2 separate regions of the Homo sapiens genome follow, and region 2 is linked to region 1. The links are contacts of gene promoters, found by promoter capture Hi-C in human tissues and cell types (Jung and others, 2019). All regions are on one chromosome and are shown on one strand. The core of a region is centred on a gene start or on the middle of the fragment in contact, and the rest is flanking DNA. Distances in the headings are between cores, read along the strand shown. Region 1 holds the start of CCDC136 (coiled-coil domain containing 136). Region 2 overlaps CALU (calumenin).

Evidence for each region. Contacts are between HindIII fragments. The study calls those that stand out against the background at their distance.
Region 2: a fragment that was not itself captured here is called in contact with the fragment with the promoter of CCDC136 in region 1 in 4 of the 25 tissues and cell types used here (aorta, hippocampus, lymphoblastoid cells and 1 more).

The regions. Positions count from the first base shown.
Region 1 is chr7:128,788,094-128,795,355 of GRCh38, forward strand. It overlaps CCDC136 (coiled-coil domain containing 136), which reads left to right and starts at 3,875. Exons shown (of 18, transcript NM_022742.5): 1 at 3,875-4,334; 2 at 6,255-6,509; 3 at 6,601-6,675. The coding sequence starts at 4,319. RefSeq lists silencers at 2,982-3,451, 2,990-3,258. The HindIII fragment of the contact is 16,505 bases long and covers 1-7,262 here.
Region 2 is chr7:128,753,346-128,760,607 of GRCh38, forward strand. CALU (calumenin) reads left to right here. Exons shown (of 7, transcript NM_001219.5): 3 at 917-1,110; 4 at 5,526-5,692; 5 at 6,447-6,507. Among named protein-coding and RNA genes, the nearest start is that of CALU, 18 kb to the left of the region's middle. The HindIII fragment of the contact is 4,544 bases long and covers 791-5,334 here.

The sequences.
Region 1 (7,262 bases), core at 2,625-5,124:
GGAAACAGTCAAAATGTCAATCAGCCGAAAAATGGATAAATTGCAGTGAATTCAAGCAATGAAAGAGTTTTCAGTAGTTAAAATTCATAAACTGGAGCTATATGAAACAACATGGATAAATGCAAAAAAAAAAAAAAACAAAAAAAGTTTGCAGAAAAATGTGTACAATATAACACTATTTACATAAATTTCTAAAACACACAAGTCGCAATTATGTATTGTTGGTAGACACATTCATAAAAGGTAAAACATACATACAGGTAAAACTGGAAAACCATAAATAGAGGGCTACCTTGAATCAAATGTGGCAAGATCTGACTGGTTGTAGGATTTCAGTTCTGTGTGCATGGTTATTTGTTACGTTATTCTCTGTACCATACTTTTCTGCATGTTTCAAATACTCATATTTTTTTTCTTTTTAATGAAAGGATCTAGGCATTTAGAAATAAGGGTAAAGGGGGATAAATGGCTACATCAGTCCTCAAAGAGGATGATCTCCTGGGATGGGATTAGGAGGGAGGCTGAGCCCTGAGTCCAGGGATTACAGGGATTAATTCAGATCATCCCCCTAGGTTGATCACCTGGCTGACATGCCCACCACTCCTGGCCCCTCAGAGATGCATTTCTGGACCACAGCCCACCTCCCTCATATCTCTTAAGCTCTTTTCTCCCGCCTTTTAACTGCCTCCCTCCGCCCTCAACCCAGTACTGGTCTGGCCAGGGTTTGACCAAGTTTGGCTCCTGAAAATAGACTGGTTCAGGTCTCTCTTAAATGTTCTCCCAAATCAAGGGTGAAAGGTGACCTGCATGCCAGGAGCCAGGGAGAGATTAGTCCTAATACTCAGGATCAGAGCTCCCTGAGGAGAGCTTGAACCCTGGATGTCACCATCGACAATTTCCCTGCTGTGCCTCCCTACATTCACCAAGAGGTCAGCAGTCAAGGCCAACCGCTAACGTGGCCCTGCTGGCGGAGGCAGAACCAGGAGGAGCTGCGCTGGGCAGAAAGAACAGCCAGTAAGCTTCCAGAACTAGTCTTTGCCAGTTCCCAGAGCACTGCATCCCTCAAGCCCCCAGTGCAGCCCCTTTCTACCACCCCTGACAAATGCTCTGCTCCCCAAATCTGGACAGGCTTGGCGTCTGCAGTAAACCCTCTGCAGAAGGGGTCTGGGTGGGCTTGTTCAACTTTCCCCACAACTGTGTCACCTTGGCCACAGGATCTGGAGTAGAATCTTGTCATCTGGGAGCAAAGAAAACATTCTTGATCTCTGCTCATCATCTCTCTGCTGAGATAATGAGAGAGGCAGAGGAAGAAAAAAGGAGCAAGGAGTTGGGGGAGGGAGAGAGACTTATGGGCAACATCATCATTAATAGGCAACATTTAACACCACAAATATGAAATCATGTTAAATGATAAGACAGGGCATTAACTGGGTAGCTGGGAGATTGACCTTTAACTCATTTATCCTGTGTCAGAAACTCTGTCAGATGCTGGAAATACAAAGATAACTAAGATCCCCCTAACCTTCAGGAAACTGGGCAGAGCCCGGACAACCCGGAGGGCCTGGTGCTGTTACAGACAAATAGGGGCGAGCACCACAAAAGCGCCTAGTGGGGCAGGGATGGGGTGCCAGTCAGAGAAGGCCACCTGGAGGTGACCCCCAGCTGAAAAGGAGGGGGAAGTCCAGGCAAAGAAGGGCTTCCTTCCCGTGGAACAGGGATGGCTTGTGGACGTGGGAGCCTGTGGGATGTCAGAGACATTTGAGCCAGAGCAACTCCATCTTGAATAGAAGCTGGGTAAAATGAGGCTGAGACCTACTGGGCTGCATTCCCAGACGTTTAAGGAATTCTAAGTCACAGGATGAGATAGGAGGTTGGCACAAGACACAGGTCATAAAGACCTTGCTGATAAAACACCTTGCAGTAAAGAAGCCGGCCAAAACCCACTAAAACCAAGATGGCAGTGAGAGTGACCTCTAGTAATCCTCACACTGTTACACTCCCACCAGTGCCATGACAGTTTACAAATGCCATGGCAACATCAGAAAGTTACCCTACATTGTCTGAAAGGGGGTGTCAGGAATAAACCACCCCTTGTTTAGCATATCATCAAGAAATAACCAAAAAAAGCAGCCCTTGGGGCTGCTCTGTCTATGGAGTAGCCATTCTTTATTCCTTTACTTTCCTAATAAACTTGCTTTTAGTTTATCCTATGGACCTCCCTGAATTCTTTCTTGCGTGAGATTCAAGAACCCTCTGTTGCGGTCTGGATCCGGATCCCTTTCCTGCAGCGGGGGGAACGCAGACAATACTAGCCCTCGACCTGTGAGTGGATGTGCCAGAGAGGGGATCCGCGTGTGTCCCTGGCTTAGGAATCTTCCAGCCATTTCCTGGATGTGCTGGGGAGCCCCTGTTCCCAACTGTGCCCACTTCTATCCTTGCCGAGACCTGCCGAGATGTGAGAACTGCCTCTTCAAGAGCCGGCACCCAGTAGTCATAGCCTGAATAAACGAATGGTTGAAGACGTGAAATAAGCCCCCTGGGCTTCCAAATCTCCCTTCCACGAGAGTGAACATCAGTCGTGCCCACTCTGAGCGGGCTACTGTGGGGGCGTGGCTCGCAGCCCACCGGGTGTGGGACCGGAAGGGAAGACAGGGCGGAGGAGAGGGGGTCTTCCGGCCCTGAGGCTTGATGGGGCCACCGGAGGGCTCCTCCTAAGAGGGTCCTTGGCCCTGGCTCGGTGGGGGGTCGCGGAAAGCGGAGAGGTCAGGGCCCTGCCGTTCGCCCATCCGGGCCTCGACTTCCCTCCTCCGGCCCCCAGGCTGCCGAGGGGCCACCGGGCAGGGGTGGGCAGGGCCTGGGGCCGGAGTCAGCGCGGACTGCTAGGTGGGGGCGCCGGCCGGGCGGGGGAGGGAGGGAAGGAGGGGCGCGCGTGTCTGCGCTTTTGGAGGAAACAGTCCCACCTCGTCCTTTGCCGTCCCCATTGCTGAGCATGACCGGGCCCTGACACCTGGTGCAGAAGGGTCCCTGGGCACAGCAGACCCCGGGGGGACCCGCCGCCAGAACCAGGGGATCTCGCTCCTCCCTCTTGGGGCAGCCATAAGCCTAGGAGCTCCTGACGCTGTCCGGGCCCCGCGGCTCCCCGCGCTCTCTAGGGGAGAGCCTTGGGGCGTATCCGGGGTCGCGCTCACCCTCCCGCGCCGCCCCCTGCACGGGCTCGGAGCTCCCGAGTGCTGGGAGGGCTTCCGGGCGGCGGCGAGCGGCGGGGGGCGGTGTCAGGAGGCCCGGCCAGGCCCCGCCCCCTCGTCCGCCCTCCCTCCCTCCCTGCGCACCCGGCTCGGGTCCCCGGGCTCGCGGCTGCGGCTTCTGCTCAGGGAGGCGGAAGGCGGCGGCGGGAGCGGTCATGGAGGCGGGCGCCGGAGCCGGCGCGGGAGCCGCGGGCTGGAGCTGCCCGGGCCCAGGTCAGAGCCGCCCCTCCGTCACCTGTCTACCGCCCCTCCTTTCTCTCCTCCATCCCTCCTCCTTCCAGACCCCCAGGTGCTCCCGGCCTCCGCGGCTCCCCTTTCTCCGCCCAAAGTCTTCCTCCCTCCATCCTGGCCTCCACCGGGGCCCGGTCTCCATCCTTCCGGCCTGGGACTGAGGCTTCCGCGCACCGGCCGCATCCTGCCTGGTGGTCCCTCCCCAGCGCGTCTCTCCACTTCAGTCCGACGGTGCTTCCAGCCTTCGGGACTGCAGACCCTACACCTCCTGCAGCCCCGGAGACTCCTGAGCGCGGGGCGAGGGTGGGGTGGGCAAGGTCCAGCGAGAGAATGGGAGGAGAGGGGAGGGGAGCGGTCGCAGCCCTACCCCTTCCCGCACGCCCCCCACTCCTCCCTCCCTCCATCTGTAGGCCACCTCAGCCTTTCAGCCTCTTCTTCACTGGCTCCCGCCCTCTTTCAGTCTTGGCCCTCTCCTCCCTGTCCCCCCGGACTAAATACGCACACCCCCTCTTTCTTTCTGTGCAAGCAAGAGGGTCCTGGAACAGCGGGTTCTGAGGAGGCTGGGAGGCAGGGCTGAGAGGTGGCCGAGAGAGAGGAGTCGCAGAGCCGCCAGAGTGAGTCAGGCACCTCCACTGGGATTACAGATCCCAGAGCCTCGAGGAGCTGGAAGACATGTCCCCTTCTTTCCTCTGCACCCCAGCCCGCAGCCAGCCCCCCACCCCCCAGCCCCTCCTTTCTCCCTGCTCTCAGGACCCACAGTGACCACTCTAGGCTCCTATGAGGCTTCCGAGGGCTGTGAGAGGAAGAAGGGCCAACGCTGGGGGTCCCTGGAACGACGGGGGATGCAAGCTATGGAGGGTGAGTTTTCCCAAAAGGCTTCTTTCTTTCCCCTCCCCTCCTCCCTTAATTCCCTTCTTTCCTCCCTCTGACCCCCAGGCCTCTGAGCCAGGACACAGCCCTTCCCTCAGTTCATCTTAGCCCCTCTTCCTGCAGCTCAGAGCTCCAGCCCTTCCCAGGGCTCAGGCTTTGACAGAAGTTCAGGATGCATCCCTTCGGGACCCCAATCACCCCCCAGCTAACCAGGTTATGTGTCCCGAGGGAGCTGCCAGACAGAGAAAGAGGCCTTGTTGGACAGAGCTTTGAAGCAGCCTTTCAGCAGGGGGTTTGTCCTCACTGCCTGCCGACCCAGATCCCAAGCTGTCTCTTATTTTAAAAAGCAAGGAACTGGGCATGTGAATTGTCTTTCTGGGGCCACCAACATTAACTTCGAATGGAAGCCTGTGGCTTTGGTTCTTTAGGATACCTTATTGCCTGAAAGAGAGAGCCTAGGAGGGGGCGCGTGAGGCCATCCTCCCAACACACGTGTATCCCCACCACACCCATGTGACTTGGCAGTTGCTGCCAACACCAGGCCCCTGGAAGGACGCTGGTCCATTTGCCAGTACTTCCTGTGAAGTGTTGCACGTTGCACATTCAGTATGGGCAAACCTGCTCCCCCTAAGGGGGACAGATGGCACGAAGGGTCCCAGTTGAACCTAAGGCTGCTGATATTAGATAAAGTAAGACCAGAGATTCAGAATTTTAAAACAAAGCAAACAATCACCATCCAGACAACATTTTGCTATTTATAGGGACTGCGTTGCAGTAAAGGAGCGGGTGCTCACAACCAGAGGCTGGGGGCCAGCACCAAACCCCAGTTTTTTTAATGCATTAAAATGGTAGGCTTTCTTTTACACACAAGTACAGCCTAAAACTTCCCCTGAAATCTACTTTGTGGTCAGCAGAGTAGGAGGGGCCTCATATGGCTCAGCTAGGGGAGAGGAGACCTTGTGACATGCAGCAGGGAAAAACAAGGTGGACCTTGTAGAAAATTTCAAACAGGTATTTAATAATATACATTTGAAAGGGCGCCCGAGTTTGTCCAATGAAACCTCTACAATCAGATATTTTCTTTCTCTACCTGCTGACGGGCAATGTTTTCTTATTATGGAAAGGCTGATTTTTCACAAGCCACCTGGATAGTTTTTGTTTGGTTGTTTTTGTTTGTTTGTTTGTTTGAGACGGAGACTCACTCTGTTGCCCAGGCTGGAGTGCCAGTGGCTCGATCTCGCCTCACTGCAACCTCCAGTTCCCAGGTTCAAGCGATTCTCCTGCCTTAGCCTCCCAAGTAGCTGGGATTACAGGCGTGTACTACCACGCCCAGCTAATTTTTTTGTATTTTTAGTAGAGAAGGGGTTTCACCATGTTGACCGGGCTGGTTTGGAACTCCTGGCCTCAAGTAATCCACCCACCTCAGCCTCCCAAAGTGCTAGGATTACAGGCATGAGCCAGCATGCCTGGTCAGTTTTGTTTTGTTTTTTAACTTTCAAGAAATCTCCAAACTGTAACTGTTACCCCATTTGACCGAAAGATCCGCTCACTGTCTCCTTTCTTGACTACTTGTCCTGCTACTCAGAGGCCAGCCTAGAAGAAGCAGGTAATCCTGTGCAAGTGTCTCATGGCTGAGCGGGCACCAGCCTGCCCACAGGCAGTGATAGGAGGCTACCAAGTGCAACATTGGTCCAGGAAGGGCCTGGGAGGTGGAGGGGCTGCTTCTCAACTTGACTCTCACACCTGAGGACTCATCTTGAGTACAGGTCTTGCCCCGGGGCTCCTTGGGGGACACCAGGTGGCACTAGTATGTCATCTCTGCCCTGGCATAGTGAGTTTGAGGGCCCTGGAAGGACGGCAGAAAGGAAGTTGATGCTGACTCCTTGGTGGGATGGCTGTGTCTCCTAGGGGAGGTGTTACTCCCAGCTCTCTATGAGGAGGAAGAGGAAGAGGAAGAGGAGGAAGAAGAGGTGGAAGAAGAAGAAGAACAAGTGCAGAAAGGTGGCAGTGTTGGCTCTCTGTCAGTCAACAAGCACCGGGGACTGAGCCTCACGGAGACAGAGCTGGAGGAGCTGCGGGCTCAGGTGCTGCAGCTGGTGGCAGAACTGGAGGAGACCCGGGAACTGGCAGGGCAGCATGAGGATGACTCCTTGGAGCTACAGGGTGAGTGCCTGGGCCAGGGCCCAGTGCCCGGGCCCAGAGGCTCTGCACTCCCCTGGATCCGAGCTTGACACTGGTGCCCCTCTCCCTGCAGGGCTCCTGGAGGATGAACGGCTAGCCAGCGCCCAGCAGGCAGAGGTGTTCACCAAGCAGATCCAGCAGCTCCAAGGTAATTCCCAGGACTTGGACTGGAGGGAGGTGGCCATCCAAGTGGTCACCTAAGTACTTTTTTCCTGAGGGTTTGACTGAAGCACAGCAGATAAAAATAACCAAATTCAGTAATTTCACCTCATTTTCCTCTACTAGTCTCACCCTTTTCCTCTCCTTGTCTCTCCATCCTCCTCTGTCCCCAGTTTTCTTTCTTTGCACATCTACCTGGCTCTTCTGTCCTCCCCTTCCATTTCTTGGCCTCCCTGTCACCTCCTGTCCCTGGTGGGCTCTTTCCTCTTGCCCCTTCAGCCTCCTCCTTCATACTGCATCCCTGTCCCTTTGTTCTCCTGGTCAGTGCCAGGGGTGGGTGATCCAAGTTGAATTCCAAGCCGGATTCCTTTTTCTGGTTCCTCCAAGGATGGCATGGGAAAGCATGAAGCCAATGAGAAGTGACTGGTGGGGCCTCTCTGCACCTATTAAGAGAGACAGATGACAGCACTTCTGTTGCTGCCTGGGACCTGAGCTTGTGGGCCCCAAATCCCTTTTTGCCAACACCCACGTCCCTTTGTCTCTGGGAAGCAGCAAGGCAGATGCCCCACATTCCAC
Region 2 (7,262 bases), core at 1,813-4,312, 36 kb before region 1:
TTACATAGGATGACTTTGCCCCTATAGTTAAGTGATTGCACCTTTAAACAGAAGTTTTCATATCATGGACATATTTTTAAATCCATAAGATGACAGATCTGGAAGAAAGACACTTATAAAGCTTCATAAAGCCACTGATTCTTTAGCTTTGTGGTTTTGCTTTATAATCTACATACTAACCCTTTCAGCTTATTAACATTCTTATAATCAGATATACATTCTTACCACATCATTTCCTCAGAGTTCTCTGTTTTCATGTAAAAATCCAATTCAACACAGTATTTAAAAGCTGCTAGCCATTTTTTAGACAAGCATCTTCCTGTCTTTTTATCTGTTTTTTAAAAATAATCTTGCCTTGAGATATAAATGATCCCAGAACTTTTCTGATATCTTTGTATTTTTATCAAAAGTGTTACTTTTTCTAAAATCAGCTAAATTTTTGAAGTCTGATGTAACTATTTTGAATTTTTAGAAAACCATGATTATTTACCAAGAATTGGAGTTTCTCTTCTGTAAGCAATAAAGAAAAATAAAGTTCAGCCACATCTTCGCTAGAGAAAATAAAAATGAAAACAAGGAAAAACAAAGTTTTACATGTTGTTTGATGCAAAGAGTGGAGAACTTGGATAGGAATGGATATTCACTCCTGAATTCTAACCATAGGCTGAAATCTACCTCCAAAGAGATAGGCTGAGTTTGCTTTTGGATCCAAGTGCACCAGCCATGACTGTGTTGACCTTATTCACGTGGCTTATTACAGACCAGTAATGGACCATTTTTTTCAGTTGCTGGCCTGGCAGTTTTGTTTTGGAGACAATTTTTTATTTCTGTGCATTAGCCCTGGGCACACACCTGGCTAAGTCCAGAGTTCTGTGTCTTTTTAACCTTTTGCTGGATTTCTCTGCATTTTCTACAGAAAGATTGTAAGTAAAATAGATGGCGACAAGGACGGGTTTGTCACTGTGGATGAGCTCAAAGACTGGATTAAATTTGCACAAAAGCGCTGGATTTACGAGGATGTAGAGCGACAGTGGAAGGGGCATGACCTCAATGAGGACGGCCTCGTTTCCTGGGAGGAGTATAAAAATGCCACCTACGGCTACGTTTTAGGTAGGTCCCTACTGTCTGGGGGAAAAAGCCTTGTGGAGCTGGCACCTTGAAACGTAACTGTTTTGTCTTGTAGAATGATTGTAGATAAAATAGACGCGGATAAAGATGGGTTTGTGACGGAGGGGGAGCTGAAATCCTGGATTAAGCACGCCCAGAAGAAATACATATATGACAATGTTGAAAACCAATGGCAGGAGTTTGATATGAATCAAGACGGCTTAATCTCCTGGGATGAGTACAGAAACGTGACTTATGGCACTTACCTGGGTAAGGGGCAAGATGTCAGCCTGGCAGGGACCGTGGTCTTGAGTCAAAGAAACAAATGGGTCACACAGTAAAGGAAAGGAAGCTTATCTTAAATAGTTCAATTCAGTGCTAAGCTGATTCCCTTTATTAATTTTAAATTTGTATATTATGTATTTTTAAATTTGTTTAATTTTTGTTTTCTGAAGTCTGGAAGTCTGGTATCTTCTACATTTTTAGCATTTTACATATATTTTACCATTTTTTCTTTATGTCATCCCTCATAGAGACAATTTTTGGAGTAGATTTCATTTAAAAGAATACATTGGGCTGGGTGCCGATAGCTCACGCCTATAAGCACTTTGGGATGCTGAGGCAGGAGGATTGCCTGGGCCCAGGAGTTTGAGACCAATCTGGGCAACATAGGGACACCCTGTCTCTACCAAAAAAAAAAAAAAAAATTTAAATTAGCCAAGCATGGTGGCACACACCTGTCCTAGATACTCAGGAGGCTAAGGTGGGAGGATCACTTAAGCCCAGGAGGTTGAGGCAGCTGCGAGCCATGATTGCACTGCTGCACACCAGCCTTGGGGACAGAGCGAGCTCTGTCCAAAAAAAAAAAAAAAAAAAAAAAAGAGGCTATGAGGCTACATACTTCCAACAGTGCAAAGCAAGGGGCTTTGAGATGTTTCTTGACATGGTCCCAGTAAAGTGTTGGACCTAAAATTCAAACCAAATTAGATTTCTTTATAACTGGTGAGAAGTCTTAATAAAATAGTTTTCCTTAATAAAATTTAACTATTTCAGTATGTCTGCTTACTGAAGTTTGGAAATGAAAATTTCCCATTTGTTTTCTCTGGCACATGAGTTTATCAGCCTGCTTTGCAAGTGCTTTAAGGCAAATAAATGTTAATTTGATTGCTTTTTGTTGATTTGATAGCTTGTATGCTTGGGCCACCTGTTAGTAATTTTCTTTTACTTGTAACACTTGCCTGCTGCTGAATACTAGGCAGTGAGTCTTATTGAGTTGATGATCCAGGGTGTTTTTATTTGTGAAATTCCTCTGTTGTACATGGTTACAGTTTAAGACAAGAATTGTATTAATATAAATGAATATAAATGGTACTTTCTCCATTTTAATCCTGGAAATTAGGCAACCTTCTGGGTTAAAGCAAGCGTTCTCCGCCACTGACTAACAGTGAGTGTATAATGGATCTGTTTCCCCACAGATAGCCAGCTGTCTGCATTAATTACAGGACTGCATGCATTTCTGGTGAAGAGACTTTTATTTCTGTGTCAGGCTTGTTCTCATTCCTAAGACTAAAGTGGCACTCTCTCTCAATGCTTGACACTTAGCCAAGAACCAAACATATCCTTCACCCAATTAAGAACACATGTATTAAACAGTCAGCACAGATGGAGAGGCATCCTGCTTCTTGCTCTGGCTGAGACCCAACACCTTCCTGATTTATTTGGAATTAATGATAAATACAAAGCAAAGAGTAGGCTATTGGTGATCTAAACAAAATGGTGTGTAAATAAATCTCAGCTCCGACCTAGGCACTCACTTGCTGCCCAGAATGATTCTTCGGTGCTGTGTATGATTATGTGCATAAAAATCTGTTGAGAGCTCTGTTGCCTCACAAGGCAGATGATTCAACGTAATGGGTATTTCTGCTGCCTGAGACTGCATAAGCTGAAGCACTGGCTGGGAAGCAATGTCTTTATAAGGCATCTTTCCCCAGAGGCATGAGGGTGGACAGCACTGAGGGGGTCATGAGTCGGCTTAGAGAAGTGAGGAGTTTTTGTTACTGTGTGTTCTTGATTCAATTTGGAGTTCAGGTATAAATCATCATAGCTCTTAGTTAAAATCTGTCTCAATGAATCCGCTATCCATGAGAGAAAGGTTAACACTGTCTCTGCCACAAGGAAAATATGAAATACTGAGATCTACCCTGCCTATAGCAAAACTAGATCAAGAGCCTACCTAAAGCTGTATACAGGCCAGCTAGGGCCAAAACTGGTGCTTAGGATAAATACAGCATTCCAAGCAGAGCTATAGGAAAATAGGTTTTGTCATTAAAAATAAAGTTTTGGACAGGCACAGTGGCTTATGCCTATAATCCTAGCATTTTGGGAGGCCGAGGCAGAAAGGTTGCTTGAGTCCGGGAATTCGCGACCAGCCAGGGCAACAAAGCCAGACCCCGTCTTTACAAAAAAAATATTAAAAATTAGCCAGGAGTGGTAATACTTGTCAGTAGTCCTAGCTACTTGGGAGGCCGAAGCAGGAGGATTGCTTGAGCCCCAGAGTCCAAGACTGCATTGAGCTATGATTGCATTGCACTCCAGCCTGGGCCACACAGAACAAGGACCTGACTATAAATTAAAAAAAAAAAAAATTGTATCTTCCTGTTTCCCTCCTTATATATATATGTGCATGTTGCTATTAGGCTATTTGAGTCCAGTCACCATTTTTACCTTTTACCCCAAGGAGGGGAGGAGAGCACTTATGTAAGAATCTAGTCTTAAAGTATAAGTTGTCTTGTTATGTTTCTTATTTATGTTACATAGTCCTGAAACCTTGTTTAGAAGAGACACTTTAGTATCTGAGAAAGGCTTGTTTGCCTTACGTTCTCCATCTCAACCTATTATGGCTTTGAGTGTGTGTGTGTGTGTGTGTGTGTGTGTGTGTGTACACAGGATCCCAAAGCCTTATGACTCGTTAAGCTGTCTGACTGAATTTTTGACACTCAATAAAAAATGAAGCTTCAAAATGCTCAACTCTCAAAATAGTACAGTAGTTTTGTTTTTGTTTCTTTAAACTGTGCTTAAAGTATGGAAAGACTGAACAATCTCAAAGGTCAGCAGTAATGATGTTATTCTTAAAGGGGCCCTGTGGGTCTTTTTTATAAAAGCAGTGTCATATCCTTTTTATGTAATCAATATGTTGCAGGAACAATAATTTCTTACCATTAATGTGGTGTCTTTTACTTTTTAAAATATCTTCATGTCTGTTATCTTAATTTGGTTTATACAGGAACGCAGATTGAAAAAGAATTTTATTTTCTGCAGTTAACGCCACATTTTTTCAGCTTAAAAAACTAAATTTCACTTTTCTATATTCTTATATAGAGACTAGATAACTGCTGCTTGTGTAGCTCGATGTCATAACAGATGGGTAGTTCCAAATTCAATTTGGTTGTAATCTAAGGGTTTTTTTTTTTGTATACCTTTGTCAAGTTATTATTGACATAAAGTGAACTGTATGTATTTAAGTGCATAATTGATGAGTTTTGACGTATGTATTTACCAGTGAAACCACCACTGCAATCACGATAATGAGCATATCCATTACCCCCCCAACATTTCCTCATGTCCCTTGGTAATCCTTCTCATTCTCGCCATTCCCCCGTCCCTAGGCAATCACTCATCTGTTTTCTGTGACTCTAAGTTAGTTTGCATTTTCTAGAATTTTACGTAAATGGGGATGAACAATACCTGTCACTCTTGGTAGATTTCTGCGTTGACTGAAAAAAAACAGAATGTGACCTTCAAAGTGGTGGCATTCTATTGCTTGAATCCAAGTGTCCATTATGTGAGGTAGAAGGCCTTTGATTTCTATCTTTTTAATGAGATCCTAATGTTTAATAAAAGTAGCAATAACTGACATTTGTTGAAAGCCAACTATGTGCCAGGCATTGTTCTAAGCACTTAGATATATTTTCTCATTTAAACCTTACAACAATCCTATGAAGCCGGCACCATTGCTAGCTCCATTTTACAGATAAAAGAGACCAAGACACAGGCCAAACAGCTAGAAAATGGTAGAGTTCAAACTCAGGCAGTATGGGACTTGAGAGCCACCACTGCCTTCCAGATGTAACTAGAAAATTCAAGCCTTCTAGTAGCCTTAATACCAATAGTGAAGCATAACAGTGAGTTACATAGTTCAGGAGCCAGAGTTCCATGTGAACTTGGAGCTGACTCTGAGATCTGATGCCTGGAGCTGTAGCCCAAAACTAAATGTCTTTGTACTGCTGCAGTTTTACCTGTGTCATCAATTATTTCTTCCTTGCATGGTTTTATCTTTATTGGAAATTGATTTCCCACCCCACACATTTTCATGTTTTCTGAAAGTCTTTTAAGATTTGACCTAAATTTTTGTTTTCTAGATGATCCAGATCCTGATGATGGATTTAACTATAAACAGATGATGGTTAGAGATGAGCGGAGGTTTAAAATGGCAGACAAGGATGGAGACCTCATTGCCACCAAGGAGGAGTTCACAGCTTTCCTGCACCCTGAGGAGTATGACTACATGAAAGATATAGTAGTACAGGTGGGTGAGATGAAGGATTCTGAACAGGGACTCAGTTTCTCTTTTTGTGGCTTATTCTGTCTTTCCCCTTTAGCCTTATATAGCATATCTTATATATATATATGCTATATAGCATATCACTGTATATGCTATATAAGTATTGGCCAGATTCAGAATCCAAGGTCTGTCACTGTTTTTCTGTGACCTTGATCAAGGTGCCTTGGGCATTCTGTTTAGTATGATAATACCTTCTGTCATATAATGTATTTTGCCATTTCATTGGTAGCTTCATATTGTAAGAATGGGGGGAAATCCCATTATTTAAAATATCCCATGACCAATAGTCAGACATTGAGTAATAACAGTGATACTAAAGAACTCTCACAGAAGGCAGTTACTGACAACATAGACTATCTATAGCTAAACACATAATCACTGGTCACATCTCCTGTTAGTGTGACTTTAGCATGACTAAGGCTACCAGGTAGATCATCATGGGCTTGATGGGATAGTTTGTCATTAAGCAGTGTCAGTGTTCTGTCAGGAAGACTCAGTTATTTTAGATTGAAGCATAGGAAATTGCTCATGTTTTACCATTTCTTGGCTAGAAATGGTTTTAACCATACAGACACACATGCATACATACATACATACATACATACATGTACAAGTGTGTTTAATGAATAATAAATGTTTACCTAAACTAGATACTTTACTTTCTTCTGGCAAATTCAGAGACCAACTTAATAGTCTCTTCTTATTCTTTCCTGTTTAGGAAACAATGGAAGATATAGATAAGAATGCTGATGGTTTCATTGATCTAGAAGAGTATATTGGTAAGTCTCTGCTTTTAGTGTTTTTCTTAGAAAAGCTGAGAAGCTTTGAAAGGTGTATTTGCTGGCTGGGCACAGTGGCTCATGCCTGTAATCCCAACACTGGGAGGCCGAGGCGGGCAGATCACCTGAGGTCAGGAGTCCAAGTCCAGCCTGGCCAACATGGGGAAACCCCGTCTCTACTAAAAATACAAAAAAATTAGTTGGGTGTGGTGGCGGGCGCCTGTAATCCCAGCTACTCAGGAGGCTGAGGCAGAAGAATCGCTTGAACCCAGGAGGCGGAGGTTGCAGTGAGCCGAGAACACGCCATTGCACTCCAGCCTGGGCAACAAGAGTGAAACTGTCTCAAAAAAAGAAAGAAAGAAAGATGTATTTGCCCATAGAAACAATTTACTCCAAGGGTCAATTCTCACTAGCTCATTAGCTGTCACCAGATCATTAACCAGACCAGTGTGATAGTGGGTTGTGATAAAGTATCCGTAGCCACATTGCCCAATCAAAATATAAATGTGAGCCCCATATGTAATTTTAACTTTTCTAATAGCCACATTAAAAAGTAAAAAGAAACAGATGAAATTTCAGTAGTTATTTAACCTAATATTCTAAAACTCTATAATTTCCACTTAATGTAAATTATTGAGGGTTTTTTTTTAATACTTAAAGCACATCCCAGCCACATTTCAAGTGCTTAATAAGCACCTGTGGCTACCATCCTCAACAGCACAGATATAGTGTATCCTGCATGCTCTATGGAACTG